Regions from separate parts of the Homo sapiens genome. Here region 2 is linked to region 1. The links are contacts of gene promoters, found by promoter capture Hi-C in blood cells and fetal thymus (Javierre and others, 2016). All regions are on one chromosome and are shown on one strand. The core of a region is centred on a gene start or on the middle of the fragment in contact, and the rest is flanking DNA. Distances in the headings are between cores, read along the strand shown. Region 1 holds the start of IFT57 (intraflagellar transport 57). Region 2 overlaps BBX (BBX high mobility group box domain containing).

What was found. Contacts are between HindIII fragments. The CHiCAGO score rates a contact against its expected background, and 5 or more counts as called.
Region 2: a fragment that was not itself captured here is called in contact with the fragment with the promoter of IFT57 in region 1 in 2 of 17 cell types (fetal thymus and M1 macrophages); the score reaches 6.0 in fetal thymus.

Annotation. Positions count from the first base shown.
Region 1 is chr3:108,219,743-108,224,743 of GRCh38, forward strand. It overlaps IFT57 (intraflagellar transport 57), which reads right to left and starts at 2,682. Exons shown (of 11, transcript NM_018010.4): 1 at 2,369-2,682. The coding sequence starts at 2,580. It overlaps LOC124909405 (a long non-coding RNA gene), which reads left to right and starts at 2,863. Exons shown (of 2, transcript XR_007095999.1): 1 at 2,863-2,944; 2 at 3,204-4,742. RefSeq lists an enhancer at 2,401-2,660 and a silencer at 2,596-2,889. The HindIII fragment of the contact is 9,168 bases long and covers 1-3,232 here.
Region 2 is chr3:107,673,821-107,678,821 of GRCh38, forward strand. The region is part of intron 3 of BBX (BBX high mobility group box domain containing); the gene reads left to right. Among named protein-coding and RNA genes, the nearest start is that of BBX, 150 kb to the left of the region's middle. The HindIII fragment of the contact is 1,156 bases long and covers 2,296-3,451 here.

The DNA.
Region 1 (5,001 bases), core at 1,432-3,931:
CATTGAAGTTTTTAAATCAGCAGGATTAGGGCAATTACTACTGTACCCAAAATATTAGATCAAAGACCTTACACCCAGGAAATGTAGTGCATGTTAGAGCACAGAGCATGTAGAATTTTTGCCAAAATGATTTAAGTGTCAGTAATAATATGTAAGTACCTTATGAATGAAAATGGTAATCTGGAAGAACCTCAGAGTTTAAAAAAGACCTCAACGATTACTCATTATGCATTTTTACTGTTTCTAACCTATCACCTATGGTGAACATTTGTTTCTATGTTGGCTGCATATTCAATCACCTGAGGAGCTAATAAAAATACTGGTACTTGACCAAACATTGCTTCTTCCCTCATGAATGAATTAAATCAGAACTTCAGTGAAAGTAGGCCCAGTATGGGGTATATTTCAAAAGATTTCTACATGTTTATAAGGTGTAGTCAGGATTAAGAACCTGTGAATGTCACATCACCAGTCAAACATCTGTGGGCTCTTGCTTAATCCCCTAGTCTACTAAACACAGTTCTACGAGGATCAGTATGATTTATACCTAAACATTATAGGAATAAAACTCACTAGCAACAACATTCAAGTCAGTTTAATCAAAGATCTTATTTGTCTTGTTCATGTGTAGCTATCATTATTATGTTTACAATGTATTTACAACTATTATAACCATTGTCATAAAAATCTGTCGTGTACTCCTTCATGTTTCCCAAACTTTTTCCTGCAGGATAAATGTAAATGTTCTGGAAGATAACAGAAAGCTGGGAAGAAAAAAGGCCATGAAGTCCTTCCAGGTATATGCTCACTATCCTTTCAAAGCACCCACCCACCAAAAAGTCATCTTTTCCTTATCGGCAGATAACTCTTCTAGGGCAGAGGAATGAACACCAATAGATACTGTAAACCTAGGACAGTGGTTCCCAAACATTAGTGTCCATCAGAATCATCTGGAAGGCTTACTGAAACAGATGCTAGGCCCCATCCCTATAATTACTGAAAAGGTAGACCTGGGAAAGGGCCTGAGGAATTTCATTTCTAGTAAGTTCCCAGGTGATGCTGATGCTGTTGGTCTGGTGATCACATTTTGAGAACCATTGGACTAGGATATCCCCACACAAATCCATGATTCAAAGTATCCTGCTGAACCCCTGAGGACACAGTGCAAGAGATGACATCAACAGAACCTTAAGGACATTTTGTTTTCATTTTAAAAATATACTTGGAAAAAAATGCATTTTTATTAACATAGGAAATGTTGGTTGTCTATATTATCCTGATCAATTCACTTTAAGTAATAATCCCAGGACTACCTTTTCTAACATGGATCAAGCAACACTACTTTTTCCTTTATCTTTTCTCCGACCATGGACTAATTTAATATGAACAGTTTATATCAAGCCTACATATCTTTCAATTCAAGTTATTGGAAGACAGCAGTGGAATGAGATTAAAACTATCAAGGGAAATTATTTGAGCCTGGCTGTAGACATTAAGTACTATAGATTCTTAATACTGATTGCCTTTTATGGAATAAAATATACAAATGTAAGTATTAAAGTGAAAGAAAAGCTATAAAACTGATTTATCTGGCTACTGCTAAGCTACAGTGATTTGAGGAGAAGGTCCTAGCTGACCACTACCCTCAGCAAGTAATGGCATTGCTTTCAGGATATGTTGGACTTTTCCCCCACCGGAACAAGGGTAAAACTTTAGGTTCTATGATAGGGGGACAATTCAATAGTTGTCATTCGTCTTTTCCACTTTTCAGTTTCTGAGAGTATGGTTATTACAAAGGCAGAAGTCTTTTAAACCATAGCAAGTAGTTAACAAGTTTACTAACCGCATTTAAAGTGCTCCTTAACAGGATCCTAAGTACCCACGGTCCCCAGTTGTATGAACAGGGTCTTAAACAACAACAAAAAACCCCAAACTAGAAAAAAAGCCTTAAGTGATAATGGCATTCCTCTCTGGAGGCGAATTTTGGACGGTCTTATAATTTTTCTAGACATTTACTTGTGTTTTTCTGAGTTTTCTTCAATGAGTATTTGTTTCATCTTTACAATCAGAAAATATAGTTTGTGTTTTCTGGTAATGCGTGTGTGTTGGAAAAAAACAGGCAAGCTGTCTTCCGATCCTTTCTGCCGTTCCAAAACTTATTTATTCTCTCTACAAAAATACCAAGTCAGGGCTGCGTGAGCTCCACGGACCTCCCGGGAGTTTGGGGTGAAGTGCCCTTCCCTGGCTAGGAAGACGGAGGCAAGGAATTGCTAACCCGCTCTCACGAAACTGGTTCCCAGCAGGACCAAGGAGGGCATCTCCCTGGGGGCTAGCAGGCACCCGGGCGCTCGGGGACGCCGGCACCCACCTGGACGGGGCCTTCAGGTTGCTCTTCCGGAGGAACTCCTCCTCGTAGCGGAGCAGCTTCAGCTTCTCCACCAAGTCCTCCATCACCACGAACATGTGGTAGGCCGCGCCGGGCCCCCGCTCCAAGACCACTTCCCCGGTCCCTTCGCCACGGGACCTAGGCACCCCATCTTCCAAACCCGACGTCGTGACGACGGCCAGAGCAGCAGTCATCGCAGAACGGACAGAGTCCAGCGTGGGCTCAGGCCCACAGACCTCTGCGGCCTAAGCCGCCAGCCCTGCCGCCGCCAGTACAGCCACGACCGGTTACCAGGCGACCACCGGACAATCCGTCACCAGGGAAACTAGACTCCGCCTCCTTCCCTCCAATCAGGGCGGCTTTCCTGAATGACGTCACCTGTGGCCCTCTTCTTGCCCTGCCTCTGTGGAAATGGTGGTCGGGAAGCAGCCCCGCCCCTCATGGAGGCGTGGCGTTCGCGCCCCACTGCCGGCTGCGTCTTCTCCCTCGCTGAAAGTCTGAAGGGAGCCGGCTTACGTTTCTGCTCCGCTTGCCTAGTGAGTCTTGAGCTGGCTTGAGGTGTGTTGGACCTGGTGGTTGCTAAAAGCAATTAAGCGGGCATCTGGGTCAGCTAGTAGCTGTTAAAAAGATTAAAGGGAGGTGAAGACGTGTAGCACTGAAGGCTGCACTGGCTCACTGATACCTTTATTTTCTCAGAATTGAAAAGTTTTTCATAGTTGTAAAGATAGTCAATACCATAGGTTTCACTTTTACTGCAGGAACTTTCCAACGAGAGGTTTCTCTCGTTCTTTCTTTAATTTTATCTTTCTCTCACTAGGCAATGCTGCACTTAACAGTATATTGTAAAGCTTGAAGTACTGTATTACGTTGCCTGGCTGTTACTCCAGTGCTAGGAAAGTGGTTGGAAGGATGAGGAAGACAATGAACAAAAGGAGGCATTTGGAAGGATTTGTTTTACTTCAAAAACAAGAATACTAAGCTTCCATCCTGCTGCTTAATCTGTTTCAAACCCATTACATGTAGTATAAAGTGTTTGGGTACTTCGTTAAATCCAACAGAATAGAGATGGTCTTAAAAGGAATTTCCCTGCCCTAAAGCTCTAAGGGTGGCTAAAGATAGGGTGTTACTACTGTATTCTGCAGTTATTGACCTAGAAAATTTAAGAAAAGGTACATAACTGACCACAGAAATGGCCCAGCTTTACAGTTTTCAAAAGGCTTCTGTATTAGGCAATTTTCTTAACAGTTGCAAAAAATGAGGTAAGTGGTGGATGCCTGGCAGTTTTTGGGAAGAAAACTTAGTACAAGAGATTGAACATATGTTCATGTTTATAACGTGACTTTTAAGGGCTCTCTGATCTCTTGTATCTGCCACTACAAAATATAGAAGGGCTACATTTTTGGACAACTGAAATTTGAAATGTATCTACAATATCCTGTTTTTATTAGAAAAAATGAGAACACTTTTCATTGTAATCCGTCTACAGCTAACTTGTTTCTGATACTAATAAGGTTATCAAAGTGAAAAGTCAGAAGGGCAAATACCATTTTTTCATTAAAGAAAGGAAGTACATAAAATTACAGACTTATGTAGAGAATAACCTGAAGGGCAGCCCACTGAGAATTGCTTTTTAAATAAATAACATTGCTTGCCTACCACAAGTCATGAGCCAGCTGCTTTTAATAAAGTTGAGTGAGAAAATTGGATTTGATGTTACCCCACTACCAAATTGATCTTTCCTGGTCTTTGCCTTTTTGAAACAGTGATTCTCCCCGATAAGTCCATACCCCAACCACCACCACATGTGCAGCTTGGGGGTGTTATATGTATGTATAACAGTCACAGTAGTGTAAGATAGATGTATGGCTTTATAAGACTGAAAAATGAAAGCTTAGATATGTTTTGGGGTCCTAAGTTAACTAACAAGCAAACTGGGGCTTTTTACATGACTCTGAAAAAGCTCTCAGACTTTGGAAGTAAATTTATTACACTCAGGGAGGGAGATGTTCCTGCCAGGCATGCTGCCTACTTAAGATGTTCTGACATTTTCAGGAAGTTACGTAACACAGTATGAAATAGTCAAACGTTGCTTTTTAGCTGATAAATCCTCCAGCAACGTATGTATTTTAACTTGGGGGAAACAAAACGACTCCCAGGGTCTTAGCCATTTCCTTCCCAGGTAAAATACTGACACAGCCTGGCCTGAAAGCAGTATACAGAATAATTTCCCCCCTTAATTGTGAAGAAGAAAAAAACCCAAAAATATAAAGTATTTCCAGTAATTGTGGCACAAAGAGAACAAAAAAGCTAACTGTTCAATACTGCATGTTTCCCCAATAAAAAGTTTTAGAAAGAACACTGAAATTTCATTGTTTTGTAAAGCCCAGGGATTATTTTTGCTGATTCCTTGTTTACCTGTAATAGTTTGTAACACATCAAAAGATCTTTTCCTTGATAGTTTTCTTCGTGTGTGTGAAAATGCACTCAAATCCTCTTCTAGCTGTTTCAGCCACTTGGAAACTTTGGGGAATACAGTTGTATCAGGTTTTTTTTTGTTGTTTTGGTTTGCAGGACTAGTTTATTTGTTGACTAAGGAGTTAGAGCTTGAAGAGAAT
Region 2 (5,001 bases), core at 1,624-4,123, 550 kb before region 1:
AATACATTTCTTCATGTATAAACACATACCTTTTCCACATTTGGAAGTCTTGTTTCATGTAAAACACGCATAGAGCAGTTTGACAAAAGAGGCACTGTCCTCGTGACAGTCTTCAAGTATTTTATTTATGTTGGTGGACAGATGTGAACTGTTCTTTACAAGTGGTATGGCCACAAAATGTAAAATTAATCACTCTCTTTAGAAAAAAAATGCATTCAAACATATATGATAGAATTTGACGCAAACCATTAATAACACTTGTGATGATACATTTTTCAAGGGAAAAGAACGTGTCAGTAAATCATCTGTAGTCCCTTAAAAATTGGAAATACATGTCAGAGGAGCCTGAAAATTAGGCATTCACATGTAAATATCTTTGGAAATTCTGACTATGTAACTAATACCAAAAACTGCCTTTTGATTCTTCTTGATTCTTTTAGTAAGTACCGTAACGCCTTCGAGCCAGAAAGGTGTGTCTGAAAGTTCTAACACACACATTGTAGGATTCCTAAGTCATTGTCTCACTACCCTTCTAATTTTTCACAGATTATTCCAGGCGTTTAGTAGTAACATAAAAAGACCTCCTTTGTACTGATTTTAAACTTTTATATCACCTTGGAAGTTTTAGACTAGAAACCCTTGCGCTAGTAATGACTTTGGGACTCTGGACATTTAGCTGGATGACTGATCCCAGTGTATTGTTGCCAAGTGAAGGGAAGACATTGAGGCGTGCGATGCGTAGAATTGCTTTGACTCACTTCTTTCCCCTGGCAGCGGTTGCAGCCTGGCGGCAGCAGTACCAAATCTGTGTACTTGCATGTTTGAAAGCTGCTTTTCTTAGGCTCCCACAGCAGTTTGTATAGAAGAGGAGCCAAAGTAAGACATCTAAAGAGACTTTCTCAAAAGCAATTCACATGTGATCTTACAAAGAACTCCTTTTAGATTTGGTCCTATCACTACACTCCTCAGACTTCTGTTAAAGCCTTTGCTAAGAGGTAGTGTTAGGGCAAGGCCTGGTAAGTTCTATTGTGTTGAATTTGTTGCAGAGTGTTTTTAAGAAGTAACAGGCTTAGAGTAATTTAGAATGTAGGGGCCAGCCATCTCCAGACACGAAAGAGGGAACCTGAGATTGACAGGTTAGATGATTTAGCTAAGGCATGCTCCTGCTTACAGAGTCCAAGTTTTCAGACTTCCATTTATGTGTGCATTTATTATGTCAGAATATGGTTTATGAATTGTAAGAAATAAGTTGCAGAAGAAAGAAAGGACATTTTAACTATACCATAAATGGTGTCAACTGCCATTAATCTGATAGGAAGATCCAGATTAAAGTTTCAGACCCTGGAGACTGGAAAGGGTTCAGAGCTGAAAGAATGTATAGTGTATCTGTCCTTACTCTGTGATATGATGAGAGGCAAAAGATGGCAGTTTTGACGGAAATCAGAGCTTTTCTTCTCAGATACTGAGGGTTAGTTTGTGAACTTCTGTTTTTTGGCCATCATGTTTTGAGCACCTGCGGAGGAAATCGTGCTCCCTCAGCCTCAGCTAGTTTAAGGACTGTGCTGATGGGAAGCAGAAGCAGCTCCTTGTGCCCTCTTAGTAAACAACACAGATTCTCACTTCAATAACTGATGAGTCTGTTCTGTTGTCTCTCAGTCCCCTTGTCAAAACCACTGATCTGGATTGCTCTACAGAAGCTGCTTTGCCCCTCTCTTCTCATGATCATGGAGGAGCTCAGTTTTAATACCGTCGTTTGTGTCTGATACACTTAGGCAGCAGTTCCCTCATGGACCTTTTAGATCAAAAATGAAACTATAGTACCTTAAGAAGCTTTTAAAGGAGACATTCTGTTACTATTTGGGGAAGAATAAAAAGGCAGTATGATATAGCGGAAAGAGTTCTGATTTTGTGGTCAAGAGACCCAGAGCTTAACTCTGCCACTAATTGGTTTGGTGAACTTGAGCTAACCTTTAACTCCTGTGGGTCTTTTTATTGTCATCTGTGAATTGGGGGACAAGATGATCTCCAGGGGCTGGATTTGCAGTCCCTATCAAGTCTATATTGAAGGGTTTCATTTTTAGAAGAGTAGCTCTTTAAACTATCCTATAAATTAAATATGACACCAGAAATAGCAGTGACAAATGGAGAATTTTCCTAGGGAAGCCAGTTATGATAGGCTACAGAAAACTTTTTAAAATAAAAACTTTTTATTATCACACAGTAGGAATGCCCTCCAAATAAATTGATAATTTCTGTTTTACAATGTGGGAATCTGAAAATATCTAGAAAATTAGAAGCTTTTAAAAAAAATTATAGAATCTGCTTCCAAAGATCAAAAGAAAACAAAACAATGAGTCTATAACTAAGGTAATTTAGATAGATGTGGATTTCATCTGATTAAGTTTAATTATAAATTGTATCTGAATTATCATAGACTAATACTATAAATAAACATTTGGTTGGATATCAGTCTTCCATTTTGCCTTATGTATTTATGCTACATTAATTGGTTTCATTAATACCATTTAATTGATCATAACTTGTGTTACTGCCACCCTGATGGTAAAAGGAGCCTTTACAGCTGTGTACATGTAGGGACATGGTACCACTTTCACAGCTTTGCTGGAAACACTATACTGATTTCTAAATATCAGACATAGCTTATTTAGAACAAGTGAGTTTGTTTTCATAAAATGTAGGGCAGCAGTAACAGTAATTACTGTCCTGATATAATGATGCTAATCTTTTATCATCATCATCTGAAGTGAATGATAAAAGCATGTTAAATTGAATCTCCTTTCTAACTTGTGTTATGCAGCCATTATAGGTCCTGGACCACTTAGGAGATAACTGGGCTGTTCCTTATTCTTTGTGGTAGTGGCAGATATTCAACTTGAGATTTAAAATCAATATTACCAGTCAGAGTTGTGTGTGTTTAAAATATGTTGTCCACCAGCTCAGACCAGTAATTGGTGAGAAAGCGGTGTAAGGGATAGGTGTTTTTTCATGCAGAATAGCTTTTTAAAAGATCATTTCATCAAGATTTAAATGTAAGCAAGCAGAGAAATTTTATAAAAACATCCACTAGATGGCATCTTGTAATTGTGTTTAGCATTATCCTGAAGCATTCTTGACTAGAGGGTATAATTGGAACAGGTTTTTATTTTTTTCTCTGAAGGTTGGTTGTTCATGAATATATGGATTCATATATACTTTAAAATAATCTTAAGTGAAAAATTTTAACCAGTCATTTTGTCATACTGCCCACTCATCATAGGAAACGTTTCTAGAACATTCCTGATATGTTCTCAAACATAGCATGACATTGGTAACCTGTACTAATAACATTGGGAAACTTGCTTTCATAACCATTTTACATTCTTAATTTTATAAAAATATGGAAAGCATAGAAAACTGGTCCCCTGCTAGAATATCCATTAGTTAGAAAATAAGCTTTGGTATTTTGCTTTGGTAGGGCATTGTGCTTGTGGCAGAGATACAGATTATATTTCTGGTGTGGTTCCAAAGTTCTTTTAAAGTTCTAAGAACCACTGACCTTGATCCTCTGAAAAATTTCTTAGTGTTGAATTTATTTTTCAAATACAGATGCTCTTTGACTTAAAATGGGGCTACATCCTGATACACTCACTGTAAGTTGAAAATATCCTGTCAAAAAATGCGTTTAATACATCTAACCTTCCAAACATCATAACTTAGCTTAGCCTGCCTACATGCTCAGAACAGTTATATTAGCCTACAAGTGGGCAAAATCATCTAACAGAAAGCCTATTTTATGATAGTGTTGCATATCTTATGTAACTTATCGAATACTAAAAGTTTTTCAAGCATGTTTAAGCTAGGTTAGGCTATGATATTCAGTAACTTGGGTATATTAAAGACATTTTCCACTAATTATATTTTTAAGTTACTTGTAAGTTGAGAAACATCTGTATTAACAAGCTAACAATCTTATTCTTAAGTGCATACAAATTTACCAATGATTTGGTTAATCTCTTTAGCCTATTAGTATTTTTAAAAGCTTATTGTTTACGGAACTATAAGTATACCCCAACGTCTTCTTTTTTGATTTTTGAATTATTTGTATTTTAAGTTAAAGAAAAGCTAGAAAATAGAATTACCAAAAAGAAGAAAACCTCATCCATAATTTTATCACAGAGAAATAATGTCGTAAACAATTTAGCATTCATTCTTTCAGGCTTTTTTGGTTTATGTGTATATAAGCACATATTTATTATGTATTTTTTTAAAGGAATCAGGCTCTTATATTCTATGCAACCTTTTTTCCCACTTATCTTCAGTGTCTTTTTATGCCAATAAATGCATTTTCATGGAATTCTTAGTCACTATAAATTGTTACATTTTAACCAAGCTCCTGCTGTTTATATTTTGCCCCCCACCCCCATTTTTTCTCTACCCACAGATTTTTGACATGCAGAGATATTTCTTTACCTAAGGGTATTTAGTGAGGAGAGCACTGGATTAAAGCAGCATAGGTCAACCTAGCACAACATCTGGTTAATAGTAGGTTCTCAATAATATTGAATGAATTTTTTACTTTTTTTGGTTACATGAGTTTAATGGTTAGAAGTTATTATGGGCCTAGCATGGTGGCTCAAGCCTATAATCCCAGCACTTTGGGAGGCAAGCCGAAGCAGGAGGATTGTTTGAGCCCAGGAGTTTGAGATAAGCCTAGGCAACACAGTGAGACCTCGCTTCTGCAAAAATTTGAAACATTAGCTGGGTGTGGTGGTGCACGCCTGTAGTCTCAGCTACTCTAGAGACTGAGGTGGGAAGATCACTTGAGCCCAGAAGGTCAAGCTACAGCAGTGAGCTGTATTTGCACTACTGCACTTCAGCCTCGGCAAGAAGGGCAAGACCGTTTCTCAAGAAGAAAAAAAAAGTTGTTAATTGTAGTTTATTTCAAGTTGACTTGAATGTTTATAGTCCATGATTAATTATGATGATAATGATAGCAAATCT